Regions from separate parts of the Homo sapiens genome. Here regions 1, 2, 3 and 5 are each linked to region 4. Evidence: promoter capture Hi-C in 16 types of primary human blood cells and fetal thymus (Javierre and others, 2016). All regions are on one chromosome and are shown on one strand. Each heading gives the region's core, a stretch centred on a gene start or on the middle of the fragment in contact. The rest is flanking DNA. Distances are from core to core; before and after follow the strand shown. Region 1 overlaps RNF220 (ring finger protein 220). Region 2 overlaps RNF220 (ring finger protein 220). Region 3 overlaps RNF220 (ring finger protein 220). Region 4 holds the start of DMAP1 (DNA methyltransferase 1 associated protein 1). Region 5 overlaps RNF220 (ring finger protein 220).

Region 1 (2,700 bases), core at 192-2,691, 370 kb after region 4:
CTTTAGAAGTGGGAAACAGACAATGAAAAGATACAAGATACTTAAGGGAGTGATCAGTACCACAAAGGAAATAAACAGCGTGGTAAAATACTGGGGACAATGGCTCACGCCTATAATCCCAGCACTGTGGGAGGCCGAGGCGGGTGGATCACTTGAGGTCAGGAGTTTGAGACCCACCTGGCCAACATGGTGAAACCCCATCTCTACTAAAAATACAAAAATTAGTTGGGCGTGTCAAATGCCTTTTTTTTTTTTTTTTGAGAAAGGGTCTCACCCTATCCCCCAGGCTGGAGTGCAATGGCATGATCACAGCTCACTGCAGCCTTGACCTTCTGGGCTCAAGTGATCCTCTTACCTCAGCCTCCAGTCCCAGCTAATTTTTAGATTTTTTGTAGAGACAGGGCCTCACCATGTTGTCCAGGCTGGTCTTGAATTCCTGGGCTCAAACAACCCTCCCACCTCAGCCTCCCAAAGTGGCTCAGATGATGGGTAGAATCTTCCAACCAGATGAATGCAACTGGGATTTTCTTTCTTTCTTTCTTTCTTTCCTTTTTTTTTTTTTTTTTTTGTTGAGACAGAGTCGTGCTCTGTCTCCCAGCCTGGAGTGCAGTGGTGCAATCTTGGCTCTCTGCAACCTCCACCTGCCGGGTTCAAGCAGTTCTCTGACCTCAGCCTCCCAAGTAGCTGGGATTACAGGCGTGGGCCACCATGCCCAGCTCATTTTTTGTATTTCTAGTAGAGATGGGGTTTCACCATGTTGGCCAGGCTGGTCTTGAACTCTGGCCTCAAGTGATCCTCCCAAAGTGCTGGGATTACAGGCATGAGCTACCGCGCCTGGCCAGTGGGATAAGTATTTCAATTTGAGTCCATGCCAAGGGAAGGAAGGCTAAGCTGAAGAGAAGCTCTGGGGGTTATTTGATAGTAAATTTAGAAGAAAGAAGTCGGCAAGTGCTATGGGCCCCCATGCATCTACTATTATTTGGATCCCAGAACACTTCAGGGGATAGAGAGTTCTGTTCCACTCTGCACTTGTCAGGTAGCGGTAGATCCACCTGGAGGACAATGTCCAGTTTGGGAGAAGAGACACTGATCAACAACTCTAATCACTCCCACAGACCACAGACCCTGATAGTTTGCCAAGAATGACACCTGCCTATGGTTTAGCATCCTTGATCTTCACAAATATCCTGAGAGTGGGATAATAACAGTAGCTAATATTTATTGAGTGCTCACAGTGTGCCCAACATTCTTTATTCTGTTTTCCACACAGAAAATCATGCAATCCTCAGGCCGGGTGCGGTGGCTCACGCCTGTAATCCCAGCACTTTGGGAGGCCGAGGCGGGTGGATCACGAGGTCAGGAGATTGAGACCATCCTGGCTAATACAGCGAAACCCCAACTCTACTAAAAATACAAAAAAATTACAGGCAGGCGCCTGTAATCCCAGCTACTCGGGAGGCTGAGGGAGGGGAATCACTTGAACCCAGGAGGCAGTGGTTGTAGTGAGCCGAGATCACGCCACTGCACTCCAGTCTGGGTGACAGATCGAGACTCTGTCTCAGAAAAAAAAAAAAGAAAAAGAAAGAAAGAAAATCATGCAATCTTCATAACAACCAAGAGATGGGTAGACTAACTGCATATTTCAAATGAAGAAGCAGGCAGAGGGGCTTAAGTAACTTGACCAAGACCACACAGTCACTGAGCAGTAGGACCAAGACTCAGACCCAGACTACCGAGGAGTCTGAGCAAAGAAAGGACAGGGAGGCTTGATGGAAATCAACACTAGTTGCTTTACTAAGTGCTAGTGTGCTGCATCTTAATCTCTCCCTAGACTTGGACCCCCAGTCTGAGCTTTGACTCTTGAGTTCTGGCGCTGTGGGGCCTAAGAACAGGGTGGCTCCATCACTGGGGCAAGCAGCCTCTTACATGTGAGCCTGTTTGTCTAAGGGCAAGAATGGGGAAAACTGTGTACTTGAAGCTATTTGCTAGGACTTTGGGACAGTTGGTTCTGGACACTCATCCGAGACAACCAGCTATTTGTGGATATTGTTTATTCTTTCTGCTCCTCTCCTCATACTGTGACTTCTGCTGACCTCCTCTGCTTAAGTAAGTCCCCACTGAGGTCCTGACCTATCTTTGGACCATGTCCTGAAGAAGTTGTTCCAGGCCAGGCATGGTGGCTCAAGCCTTCGGGAGGCTGAGGTGGGTAGATTGCTTGAGTCCAGGAGTTTGAGACCAGCCTGGGCAACATGGTGAGAATCCATCTCTATAAAAAATACCAAAAAATTAGCCAGGTGTGGTGGCGTGCATCTGTAGTCCCAGCTACTGGGAGGCTAAGGTGAGAGGATCACTTGAGCCTAGGAGGCAGAGGTTGCAGTGAGCCATGTCATGCCACTGCACTCCAGCCAGGGCAACAGAGCAAGACCCTGTCTCACAAAAAAAAAAAAAAAAAAAAAAAAAAAGAAAGAAAAGAAAGAAAGAAAGAAAAGAAAAGAAAAAGAAAGAAAGAAAGAAGAAATTGTTCCATGGAGAAGGTTGTCCCTTCATCTAGTGTTAGGATAAAGAAACTGAATCTCAAAAAGATGAAGAAACTTACTCAAATTCCTGTTGCTATTACATAATGAAGCTGGGATTTTGAACCTTGGGCCTCCAACTCCAGATGCTGTGCTTTTTTCCCCTTTTCCCACCATGACAATAGAA
Region 2 (2,700 bases), core at 137-2,636, 400 kb after region 4:
ACCAACAAGATGAAATCCCATCTCTACAAAAAATACAAAAATTAGCCAAGTGTGGTGGCACATGCCTGTAATCCCAACTACTCAGGAGGCTGAGGCAGGAGAACCACTTGAACCCAGGAGGCAGAGGTTGCAGTGAGCCAAGATCACGCTACTGTACTCCAGCCTGGGCAACAGAGCAAGACTCTGTCTCAAATTAATTAATTAATTTAAAAAAGAAAAAAAAATAGACATCCCATGGGGGATGTGTCCTAATAGATTTCTGAGAGGGGTGGCTGGCTGAGGAGGTACCATTCATGGCCACAGCCTCTGGAGCTGCAAGGAGGAGGGGTGCTCGTGGGCTCTGAAACCCTCAGGCCCCTCCTCTAGGCCAAGAAGCCCTAGAGGGCAGCAGCAGGCTTGGGTTTCAGGACTGGGATGCTGGGTCTGCCTCCTGGACTAGCCCAGCTTACGCGTCTGTCTGTTCTTCTCCCCTCACTAGGTAAGAAGAAAGCAGCGGCATTGTTCGACAGCCAGGCCCCAATTTGCCCCATCTGCCAGGTCCTGCTGAGGCCCAGTGAGCTGCAGGAGCATATGGAGCAGGAACTGGAGCAGCTAGCCCAACTGCCCTCGAGGTAAGCCACCTCCCAGGGAGCCTGCCTGCTGGAGGAGTCCACTCAGGGTTCTGGCCACCGGATCCCAGAAGCAGCCGCCTGGCCCATACCCCAGCCCCTCGGGAAAAGACAGGACCCTGCCACCCTTCTCCACAACTCTGTTTCAATCCTCAGATCTTTCCGCTGAATGGAGCCACCTTCCTCTTCTTGCTCTATTTTTGGAGATGGGAGGAGAGTGACCCCGCAGGCCCCAGCCTCAAAGGAAAACATGAGAGGAGCTAGACAGGGGTGAGCCACTGCCAAAGGCCCAGCACTGCCATGTTGAGCCTCAGAGCAGAATAAAAGCAGCAGGTCCTAGGCCTGGCAGGCCCCTCAGAAGTGCAGCCAAGTCCTTCCTCCAGTGGGGTGGACACTACCTTCTCTATGAATCTCAGTGTCTGAAAGATGACAATCTTAAGAATGTGCTCAGGTGTGTCCCCCACTGTCCCACCCCACCTCACCCCCAGCCTCCCTCCCTTGTCCCTGCCTGAAGGACTGGGCTGAGCCTCCTCAAGGGCCTGGTGGAGGAGCCAGGTTATCAAAAAGAGTAGAGGAGAGGTGTGACAAATTACCTAAAATCTTAGCAGTTTAAAGCAACCATTTCATTGTGCTCGTGGAATCTGTGAGGTCAGGAATTCAGATAAGGCACAGAGGAGATGGCTGATGTCTGCTCCATGATGTCTGGGGCCTTAGCTGGGAAGACTTGGTGGCTGGGAGCTGGGTCATGTGAAGGCTGCTTCCCTCACATGTCTGGGGGTTGATGCTGGCTGTCAGCTGGGACCTCAGCTGAGGCTGGAATCAAAGCACCTACACAGGGCTTCTCCATGTGGCCTGGGCTTCCTCATAGCTTGCCAACCTCGGGATGGTTGGACTTCTTGCATGGCAGCTTTGGGCTCCAAAAGCAAATGTTCCAGCCAACGAGATGGAAGCTGGATCACCTTTTATAACCTAGCCTGAAAGTCACTGAATCTCACTTCCACTGTATTCTATTGATTGAGGCAGTATTAGACCACCCAGAATTCAAGGGGAGAGGACATACACCCCCCTTTTGATGGGAGGACTGGCAAGGTCAAATTGTAGAAACGTATGTGGGATGGAAGATATGGTTGATGCTGTCTTTGGAAAATATAATCTGCTACTGAGGGACGGTCTGCCCCGCTCCTCCCAGTCCGACCCTTATTCAGTTCAAGTCATCAGACTTGACTGATCCTCCTTCCTTCTACCTTCTTACCGAATCCCCATGCAAGGTGCAGGGGATCCCATAGTGAATCAGAATGGTCCCTGCCCTTGGAAGTTCATAGCATGAGGGTAGGGAGGGTCAGGCAGTACAAACCCAGAGGGATGGAGACTGCTATACGGGAAGAACTGGAGCTTGGGGGTATCAAGGAGGCACCAAACCCAGCACAGAGCAAAGAAGGCTTCCTCAGAAGGTAAGGCCTGAGCTGAATTTTGAAGGAAGAAATATTTAGTCATCTATCGCTGTGTTACAAACTACCCTAAAACCTAGCAGCTAAAACAACATACATGTATTATCTCAGTTTCTGTGGTCATCAATTCAGGAACAGCTTAGCTGGATGGTTGTGGGTAGTAGTGGCTACTGGCTGGGAGTCTCTCATGAAGCTGCAGTCAAGATGTCAACCAAGGCAACGGTCATCTGAAGATCTGACTGGGACTGCAGGATCTGCTTCCAAGATGCTCACTCACATGGCTGTTGGCAGGAGGCCTCAGTTCCCCCACATGTGGGTCTCTGCATAGGACAGCTTGAATTTCCCTATGACATGGCAGCTGACTTCCCACAGAGCATGCAGTCCAAGAGAAGACTAAGGAGGGTGCCACAGTGCTTCTTATGATCTAGTCTGGGAAGTCACACACTGTTGCTTCTACTCTATTCTATTCTATTCTGTTCACTAGGAGCAAGTTGTCAAGTCCAGCTCATTCTCAAGGGAGAAGAATTAAGCTCTAGAAGCTCTACCCATTGAAGGGAGGAGTATGAAAGAATCCATGGGCATATAAGACTATACCAGTGATAATAATAATAATCCTTGTTGAATGCTCACTATGTGCCGAGTAC
Region 3 (2,700 bases), core at 8-2,507, 340 kb after region 4:
CCAGCCTCGGCCTCCCAAAGTTCTGGGATTACAGGCGTAAGCCACCGCGCCCGGCCTCTTCCTGTTCATTTTTAAGCAAAGTTCTCCTCTTTACAGATGTTGCTAGACAGGGAGGGGAACCCATGGTGCTCACTATATCACTGAGCTGAATGTCTTTGCCCAGTGAGAACCCCAGGGTGCCCGAAATGGCTGAAACAATCCCTCCGCTAATAGGGGACCCTGGGCCCTCATTCTGCATCTCTCTAGGGGCTGAGTTGAAGGAGCTTCTTTCTCAATCCACATACATATATATGTGTATATATGTATGTATATGTATATATGTATATATATTTTATATACGTATGTATATATAATATATATACATATGTATATATTAATATATAATATATATTTTATATATATATATATAAGCTTCTTGATAGAAACTGTTTGTGTTGGCTGGGCGAGGTGACTCACACCTGTAATCCCAGCACTTTGGGAGTCTGAGATGGGAGCATCGATTGAGCCTAGGTATTCTTTCTAGACCAGTTCTGGGCAACATAGTGAGACCCTGTCAAAAAGGAAAAAAGGAAGAAAAAGAAAGAGAAGGAAAGAAAGAGAGAGAGGAAGGAAGGAAGGAGGGAGGGAGGGAGAGAGGGAGGGAAAGAAGGAAGGAAGGAAGGAGAGCGAAACTGTTCATTTTTACATCTTGCACAATGCTTTGCTCATAGTAGGCACTCTGAACTGAAATACCTTGAAAACTAGGATCATCCATATTCACTCGTTCATTCATTCATTCATTCACTGAACAAACTGATTAAGGGATGTACATGACTGTGTCTCATAAATTTGTCCAAAGATGTTTAAATTCATTTATGTTTTCTGCTAGACCCACCATTTGGGAGAATGAATTTCTTAAGTTCACTGGCCACGGTATAAAATCACCTTTATTCATCCCAAATGTGTTCGAGTTTCAAAGCAAACCCACTTTGCCTACAGTTTCAGGATCTTGTGAATAAGTTTCTAGTCACCTTCTCTACACCATTTGTGATTTGTGATTTCCTTCACATCCCCCACCAGCCTTCTCACTTCCAGACTGGGTGGTGAGTCATCGACCCTTCCCCACTGAGGAGCTTTTGCATGCCCTGCGTCTTCTCCAGGGTGGGACAGAGTGCCACGGCTGAGCCCTGCGGGTAGGACTGTTCCAGCTGGGCACCTCAAGGAACATGTTCTCCTTCTTCCGTCACATCTTATTCACAGTTCTCTTAGCCTTTTGGCCAACAGCCTCAGGGAACTGTCTAAATGAAGAAGGATTTCTAGGTCCTTTGCCAGAACCGTGGCTGACCATGCAGAGTTGAGCACTGGAGAGGGGGTTTTGATGTGTTCATCACAAAAGGCATTGCCTTGCACTTGCCCACATTTAATTGAGTCTGTACCCTTTTGCCCTGAAATCATCCTGCCAACTAAATCCAAAAGGATGCTGGAGAATAGAGAATAACATCTATGGCCCAGCCCCCACTGTATATGCGTATGCACACCAAGGGCCATACCTTTGGCTGGATGCCTAGGGCTCTTTTCTGGCACCAGGTGAAATATCAGAATCTTTTCCACTGCTCCCTGTCTAATTCAATCAGATATAAAATGTGTAAGACTTTGTCTAAACCTTCAAAGACCTCCTAGTAGGCTTGGGGAAGAAATAGACACATATGATAGTACCATTAGTGGTAGCATCTACTGCATATTAAACATGTCCTATATGCCAGGTGCTTTATATACATCCTTTATATTGAGTATCAACTTTAATCCTTACAACAGCCCTGCAAGGTGAGTATTTTTACTCCATTTGATAAATGATAAATGAAGCAGAGAGGTTAAACAACCTCCCCCAAGATCACGCAGCTAGAAAGTTTACGGAGCTAGAATTCAGACCTAGGTGTGTCTTACTCCAAAGCCTGTGTTTTTTGCCACCACCTTACATGATCTCAACATATAGCAATCAACATGACATGTTATAGCCCCGGTGAAAGAGATCAGTTATTGGACTGTTTTGGTCTCTTCTAGGTTACCTGTCACCTGTCTCAACCCAACTTTTTCAGACCTTAGCTTAAAGTTCGTTTCCTAAGGGAAGCTTTCTCCAGCCCCCATGATGCATTCCCATAAAGCCAGTTCTTTCCCTCACAGCTGTTGTTTAGGCAATTGTTTGTGTAATGTGTTCCTTTCCTGTTAGAAGGCAACTCCGTGAGGGCAGAGACAATGATAGTTTTGTTCAGTGTTTTGTCCCTAGCGCCTAGCCCAATGCGCAACACATAGTAAGTGCTCATTAAACTTGCCTTCTCGCTCCAGAACCTCACTTGCTTTCTAGTTCTCCCCTACTCCCCTGCCCTTTCCACCTTGCCTCCAGAACTTCCTTCAGTGGTGATGGCTCCAACATCCCCCAGCCCCAGTCCTCAGCCTTCCAGATGCTTGGGTATCCCAGGAGTTTTATTCACACTGCCACGCTGTTCTGTGGAAGCAGGGCTTCCCCTCGGCCCTAGCAGGGCAGGTGCTGACAGGAGCAGCCAATAGCCAGGATGCCAGGTTTCCCTGTGCTAAGCTTTTTCCTGGGAATGATTTAAGGCCCTGAACAGATAAGTGAAGAGCAAACCCGCAATGAAGTCAGCACTCTGCTTATTAAGTGGAAAAAGCTGTGCTCGGCTTATTGAAATGTTCATTAGACAGATA
Region 4 (2,700 bases), core at 57-2,556:
GATCCCTGTCTTCACAGAAATGAGTCTATTAGAGATATATATTAAACAAGTAATTACACAATTAATTAACTACAACTAGGGTCAAGTGTTTCAGGCAGCCAATTGCTCTCTCCCTTTCTGGCTCCAAGGACCATTTCCTTACCCTGTGGACAATTTCTGCTGTAAGACTGTGACTTCCTCCGGCAACTGTTTGGAGCTCAGTGGATCCATCCAGGAATCAGACCCAGGAACAGGTTTGTACCTCCAGGCCTAGTTCTCCAAAGTTTTGGGGACTAGTCAGGCTTGTGGCTACAGCTGTTGTATCCCCTTGTCTTCTCCAGGCCAGAACAGGCTACACCACTTATAGCTAACTTGCGCAAACTGTCTGCTCCTCTAGTCCCTGCTGGTATCTTTGGCAGGTCTCGACTTGGGGTCTGGCCTTCTTAATGCCTTAACAAGCCCCACCCTATCCCACAGGCTATGTGTCCTTCAAATTGACAGGCTGGTTTGCAGACTGCTGAAGCTGGGAGCTGCTTTCCTTGTCCCTTGTGCCCTTCCTCAGGACCTCCTGTCTCTCTCTTTCCAGGAAGATCCCCAGGTTTATTCCCTTGAGGGATACTTCTAAGCTGGTTCCTGCTTGGGGCTGTGTTTTGGGCTTCTTCGTAGCCCAAAGAGTGCAGCTAGCTCCTGTACTAGTGAAGTGCCACGAAGCTGGCCTCCAGGAAATCCCCACGAGGCCACAACCCACAGCTATCTCCATCAGAGGAGGTGCAAATGAGGGCCCACACCTTACTCCATTTTGGCAGCCGCCCTAGGAAGCTCTGCCTTTATTTCTTCATCTTCAAGCTTATCACAATTTGAAGTTTATCTCTTCACCTCCAAGCTTAGCACAGTGCCTAGTACATATTAGCACTTAATGAAGAGGGGGCAATTCAAATCATTAACTCATTTAATAAAAAAATAGTAAATGTCCCACGCACCGTGCTAATGTTTTACAAGGATTCTTGGTATTTCATTTACACAGGTGCCATTACAATTTCCATTCGGCAAATAAAGAAAAAGGTCCAGAGAAATTAAGTGACTTCCCAAAGTCACAAAGTTCTGGTATCTCTTCACTGCCTGAGACGCAACGGAGCATCGTAGAGGGAAAATGCCAGAAAGCAGGCAGTGCACCAATGAAAACAGGCTCGCGGGAGAACCAAAGGGTGGCAAGCTCAGCACGGCCAGTAGCTTTCACCCTCGGTTGCCAGTCGGCTTCGTTTCCTACAACACCGACCGGAAGTGTTTCTGTCGGCCGCGTTCCGAATGAGCACCGCCGGAAGTTTCTGCCGCGGCTTTGCGGGGACGGGGGAGTGGTAGTGGGGGCTGCAGCTGCCGGACCCAGGTGCGGAAGTGCGAGGGCCCAGGTGGCTGAAGGGGCCGTTAGGAACATCCAAGCGGTGGGGCACAGGCAGATCCCCGACCTGACCTGGACCACCCTTCTCCTCTTGGCCCGCCCCTTCAACTCGCCTCCGCTTAGGTCTGGATTGGCCCCGCCCCCTGACCTGAGCCTGGTCCTTCTTCAGGCACTGACCCTTGACCTCCGGTGGCTCCCCCATCTCTCAGGCGCGATGGCTACGGGCGCGGATGTACGGGACATTCTAGAACTCGGGGGTCCAGAAGGGGATGCAGCCTCTGGGACCATCAGCAAGAAGGACATTATCAACCCGGACAAGGTAGCAGGGGCACCTGAAAGCGTTGACTAGGGGAGGGTAGGGGAGTGAAGATGGGGAGGAGTGACAACGGGCAAGGGATGGGTGCTACACTTACAGTGAGTTGGGCGATAAAAGGGGTGACATAACAGGACAGGGAATATGTGTCATCCTTGATGGGAGGGAGGAGATGGGACATCGTGGGAGATGGTGGGACCAAGAGGGTATGACACCTCTAAGAGCTGAGAGGACCAGGCAAGTGTGATTTTTGCAAGATATTGTTGGGGAGAGATCAAGACATTGTAACAGTCTGAGAGTTGGTGGGATGGGGAGGGGACTGCTCTGATTTGGGCGTAGGATGGTGTTCCTGGGAGTGGGTTTCTGTGCCTTTACAGTGTGTCAGTTTGCCTGTCATTGACCCTGTAGGTGCTGCTTTGTTCAGGGATTGAGCTGGACTAAAGAATTTTCAGGAAAGGGTCTAGGTTGTGGTTCCTTTCTGTGGTTTCCTTCCTCAGAAAAAATCCAAGAAGTCCTCTGAGACACTGACTTTCAAGAGGCCCGAGGGCATGCACCGGGAAGTCTATGCCTTGCTCTACTCTGACAAGAAGCAAGTATTGGAGTCCCAAGTCCCCCAGGTTTTGGCCCCTGATTCACCTGCCATGCCCCTAACTCCTAGTTTTCTCTAACAATTTTCTCCTCCCCAGCAAGGGCTCCTGCTTGCTTAGCAGGATGCAGGAGGACCTGAAGTCTTTTGCTCCAGGACATGACTTTCTTGCTATAGGGTAGGGTAGATCAGCTCCCTGGGACAAAAAGCTCTTTAACACACCTTCTGATTCTAACCTCGCATCTCCCTAAACCTCCCTGCCAGGGATGCACCCCCACTGCTACCCAGTGACACTGGCCAGGGATACCGTACAGTGAAGGCCAAGTTGGGCTCCAAGAAGGTGCGGCCTTGGAAGTGGATGCCATTCACCAACCCGGCCCGCAAGGACGGAGCAATGTTCTTCCACTGGCGACGTGCAGCGGAGGA
Region 5 (2,700 bases), core at 60-2,559, 420 kb after region 4:
TTCATGGTCTTGGCCTTCTGGAGAGATACCTAGCAACATGGAGTGTCTTTGCTCACTGGATTTTTATTAAACACTGCAAATAGAAAGGTATGGGTAGACCTTGCACCAGCTGCAGCCAAAGAGTGGACTTACTCACTGGCTTAGTTAGCACCAGTCTCCTCCCCAGGTGCTCTTGGCAAAGCCCAGTCCCCAAAGGAGCAGGAGGTATTTCAAGATGAGGGCCAGATCAGGCACTGAATAAAAAGGCCAATGGCTGGCAAGAGGTCAGGATGTGTCAGCTCCACTGGGACCCTGGGGGCTGCAGTGACCGTCTGCTTGTTCTGTGCTTTGTTTTCGGTTTCCCCGTGCAGCTCGGATTGGGAAAATGAAACGGAGGAAGCAAGATGAAGGGCAGGTATGTCCCCTGTGCAACCGCCCCCTGGCAGGATCGGAGCAGGAGATGAGTAGGCATGTGGAGCATTGCCTTTCTAAGGTAGAGGGGCCATCACCACCCACCTTCCTTCCCCGCTCCCTTCCCCCGACACTAGCTGCTGACTGCCCCTGAATCTGTGGGCTCTTGGGGTCTCCATGTGGTCTCAGCAGCTTCTTCCCTTCTGACCACTGCTCTCTCCTTTTGCTTTCACTCTCACTCATTCCCTCCTTGGGCTCCAGCGGAAAACTATTGGGAAGAGGCCCAGGTCTTTGACCTCTAAATTGGTTTGCTTCAAAGGAGCCCTAGAGCTGAGGGCCCACTTGGCACACCACAGCTGGGGCTAGAGCTGTGCCTTCGTTGCAGACTGTGGGGAGCAGGTGGGGATGGCCTGGGCCCAGCATGATCCTGCTCTGCTCTTCACAGAGGGAAGGCTCCTGCATGGCTGAGGATGATGCTGTGGACATCGAGCATGAGAACAACAACCGCTTTGAGGAGTATGAGTGGTGTGGACAGAAGCGGATACGGGCCACCACTCTCCTGGAAGGTGGCTTCCGAGGTACAAGCAGCTGACACGTAGACATTGGCACTCTGGTGCCAGGCCTCTGCTGGGTATCCATCTGCTGGAAGCCAAGAGGCCGAGGCTGGTGGCTGGTCATCCATCCGTTCCACCACGTGGGGACTGCTGCTGGTGGGGCTCCTTTGTGACCGTGCTGCCTGCCTGTGATGTGCATATTAAAATGGATGTATTTGGGTGGGGAAATGGAATTGTGAGGCTGCAAGCTAGGAGTGACGAAGGGGGGCTCTCAGCTTCGGGTGATGCATTGAAGGTGACAGCCAAGCCGCGTTAGCACCTGCATAAAATATTAAAGGGACGGTTATGCATTTATCACTCCATCCCTCTTAAGGCTGATAAATGAGAATCCAGCAACCTGCTGTACACCTCCAGCACTGGGGGCCCTGAGGGCTTCCAGGCAAACACATTGGATTTTCCTCCTCCTCCTCTTCAGCCCTATGTCAGGGAAATCAGTTACAGAGGAGAGTGAGTTATGGCAAAATTTGACCTCCCATGAGCTTCATTGGTGAATCTAATTTTAGCTCTGATCCCATCCCTTCTCCCTGGGCGCCCTCTGCCCTGAAGCAAGAGGGGCCTGGGCCCAGCTGCTCCCTCCTTCCCTTGGGCTCTCCCCAGTTGCTACAAAGGAGTGTGCAGGGCCCTGCCCATCTCCAGTGCCCTCCCAGCTCCTTGGAAGAGCAAGGCTTGACACCCCCCACCAGGTCAGACAGCAGAATTGGTTGGGTGCCCAGGGTTAGTGACTTGTTAAACTCCCCAGCCTTGGGCAGGGGAAAAGGGGAGCTGTCTGCCTCTTGGCCTCCAGCTCTTCTCTCTTTCTGTGCACAAGCACAGCTGGTACTGCAGCTTGTGGTCATTAAGTGAGCCAATCTGCTTCCCGTCTGCCTCTCTCTCTGGGCAACACCTTTGGGAATACTGCTGTGTATGGTCCCTGGGGAATCTCACAGCAGCTGGGAAGAAGTTCTCTGCCTTCGTGGGGCCGTGCTACCTGGGCAGATGCTGAGGAGTGGTCTCTGCAGGGCCGTCCAGTGCAGACTGGTTCCACGAAGGGGCTAAGAGCCCAGATGAGACATTATGCCTCTGGGCGTCTCTCACATTACCCAGGTGTTTGGGGGCAAGCCAAAACATAAATCAGGAAGGTTAGTCAGACCAAACAGTCTCCCTGAGCCGGAGCTGGAGAGTGTTAGTTTGCCATTTCACTCATCCCGTACTGGAGCCTTCGAGTATCTGAGGCCCTAGAAGAGTGAGCAGCAGGGCTGACGACTGTCCCATGAGTTGGACACATGGGTGTCCGATGGCAGCCACACAGGGTCAGTTTCAACGTGCTGCTCTGGTTAGCTCTGTTGGCAGCTGCAACTGCTCACATCCTCCATTGCTGTGGCACCTTCTTAGGTTCCTTGGCACAGACCTGGACCTGATGGCTTCTGGGCACCAGACAGGGCTTATGGAGGATAAAGCTGCAAAGGGCCTGCTGATTTGACAAGAGTATTTCCCCTGTGCCGGGATGCACTTGCACAGCAGTGTGAGGGGCTCTTAGGCCCCGGGCGGGTATCCGTTTTCCCTGAGTGTTTACACTGTGAGGTTGTTCCTTTCAAGAATTCCTGAGGGGAGTTCAAAGGGGGCTTTTCTTTGAGCGATTTGGAGAGCGAGAATGAGAGTGAGACTTGAAGAGGGAACAGGGGCCGGAGGTGCCTTTATCTGCAGAGAATTGCTCCAG

What was found. Contacts are between HindIII fragments. The CHiCAGO score rates a contact against its expected background, and 5 or more counts as called.
Region 1: a fragment that was not itself captured here is called in contact with the fragment with the promoter of DMAP1 in region 4 in 5 of 17 cell types (endothelial precursors, megakaryocytes, M1 macrophages and 2 more); the score reaches 10.5 in endothelial precursors.
Region 2: a contact is called between a fragment that was not itself captured here and the fragment with the promoter of DMAP1 in region 4, in 2 of 17 cell types (endothelial precursors and neutrophils). The highest score is 6.7, in endothelial precursors.
Region 3: a fragment that was not itself captured here is called in contact with the fragment with the promoter of DMAP1 in region 4 in 3 of 17 cell types (endothelial precursors, megakaryocytes and erythroblasts); the score reaches 9.4 in endothelial precursors.
Region 5: a contact is called between a fragment that was not itself captured here and the fragment with the promoter of DMAP1 in region 4, in 11 of 17 cell types (endothelial precursors, neutrophils, fetal thymus and 8 more). The highest score is 10.7, in endothelial precursors.

Annotation. Positions count from the first base shown.
Region 1 is chr1:44,577,596-44,580,295 of GRCh38, forward strand. The region is part of intron 2 of RNF220 (ring finger protein 220); the gene reads left to right. Among named protein-coding and RNA genes, the nearest start is that of MIR5584, 33 kb to the left of the region's middle. The HindIII fragment of the contact is 6,321 bases long and covers 1-2,700 here.
Region 2 is chr1:44,613,687-44,616,386 of GRCh38, forward strand. RNF220 (ring finger protein 220) reads left to right here. Exons shown (of 15, transcript NM_018150.4): 3 at 479-611. Among named protein-coding and RNA genes, the nearest start is that of SNORD145, 56 kb to the right of the region's middle. The HindIII fragment of the contact is 7,670 bases long and covers 1-2,700 here.
Region 3 is chr1:44,556,803-44,559,502 of GRCh38, forward strand. The region is part of intron 2 of RNF220 (ring finger protein 220); the gene reads left to right. Among named protein-coding and RNA genes, the nearest start is that of MIR5584, 13 kb to the left of the region's middle. The HindIII fragment of the contact is 1,696 bases long and covers 410-2,105 here.
Region 4 is chr1:44,212,165-44,214,864 of GRCh38, forward strand. It overlaps DMAP1 (DNA methyltransferase 1 associated protein 1), which reads left to right and starts at 1,307. Exons shown (of 10, transcript NM_019100.5): 1 at 1,307-1,694; 2 at 2,186-2,277; 3 at 2,539-2,700. The coding sequence starts at 1,590. RefSeq lists a silencer at 616-715 and enhancers at 1,113-1,407, 1,146-1,385, 2,151-2,652, 2,653-2,700. The HindIII fragment of the contact is 5,612 bases long and covers 861-2,700 here.
Region 5 is chr1:44,635,195-44,637,894 of GRCh38, forward strand. It overlaps RNF220 (ring finger protein 220), which reads left to right. Exons shown (of 15, transcript NM_018150.4): 7 at 351-394; 8 at 836-968. LOC107984950 (a long non-coding RNA gene) reads right to left here. Exons shown (of 2, transcript XR_001738031.2): 2 at 44-1,263. Among named protein-coding and RNA genes, the nearest start is that of SNORD145, 35 kb to the right of the region's middle. The HindIII fragment of the contact is 4,145 bases long and covers 1-2,700 here.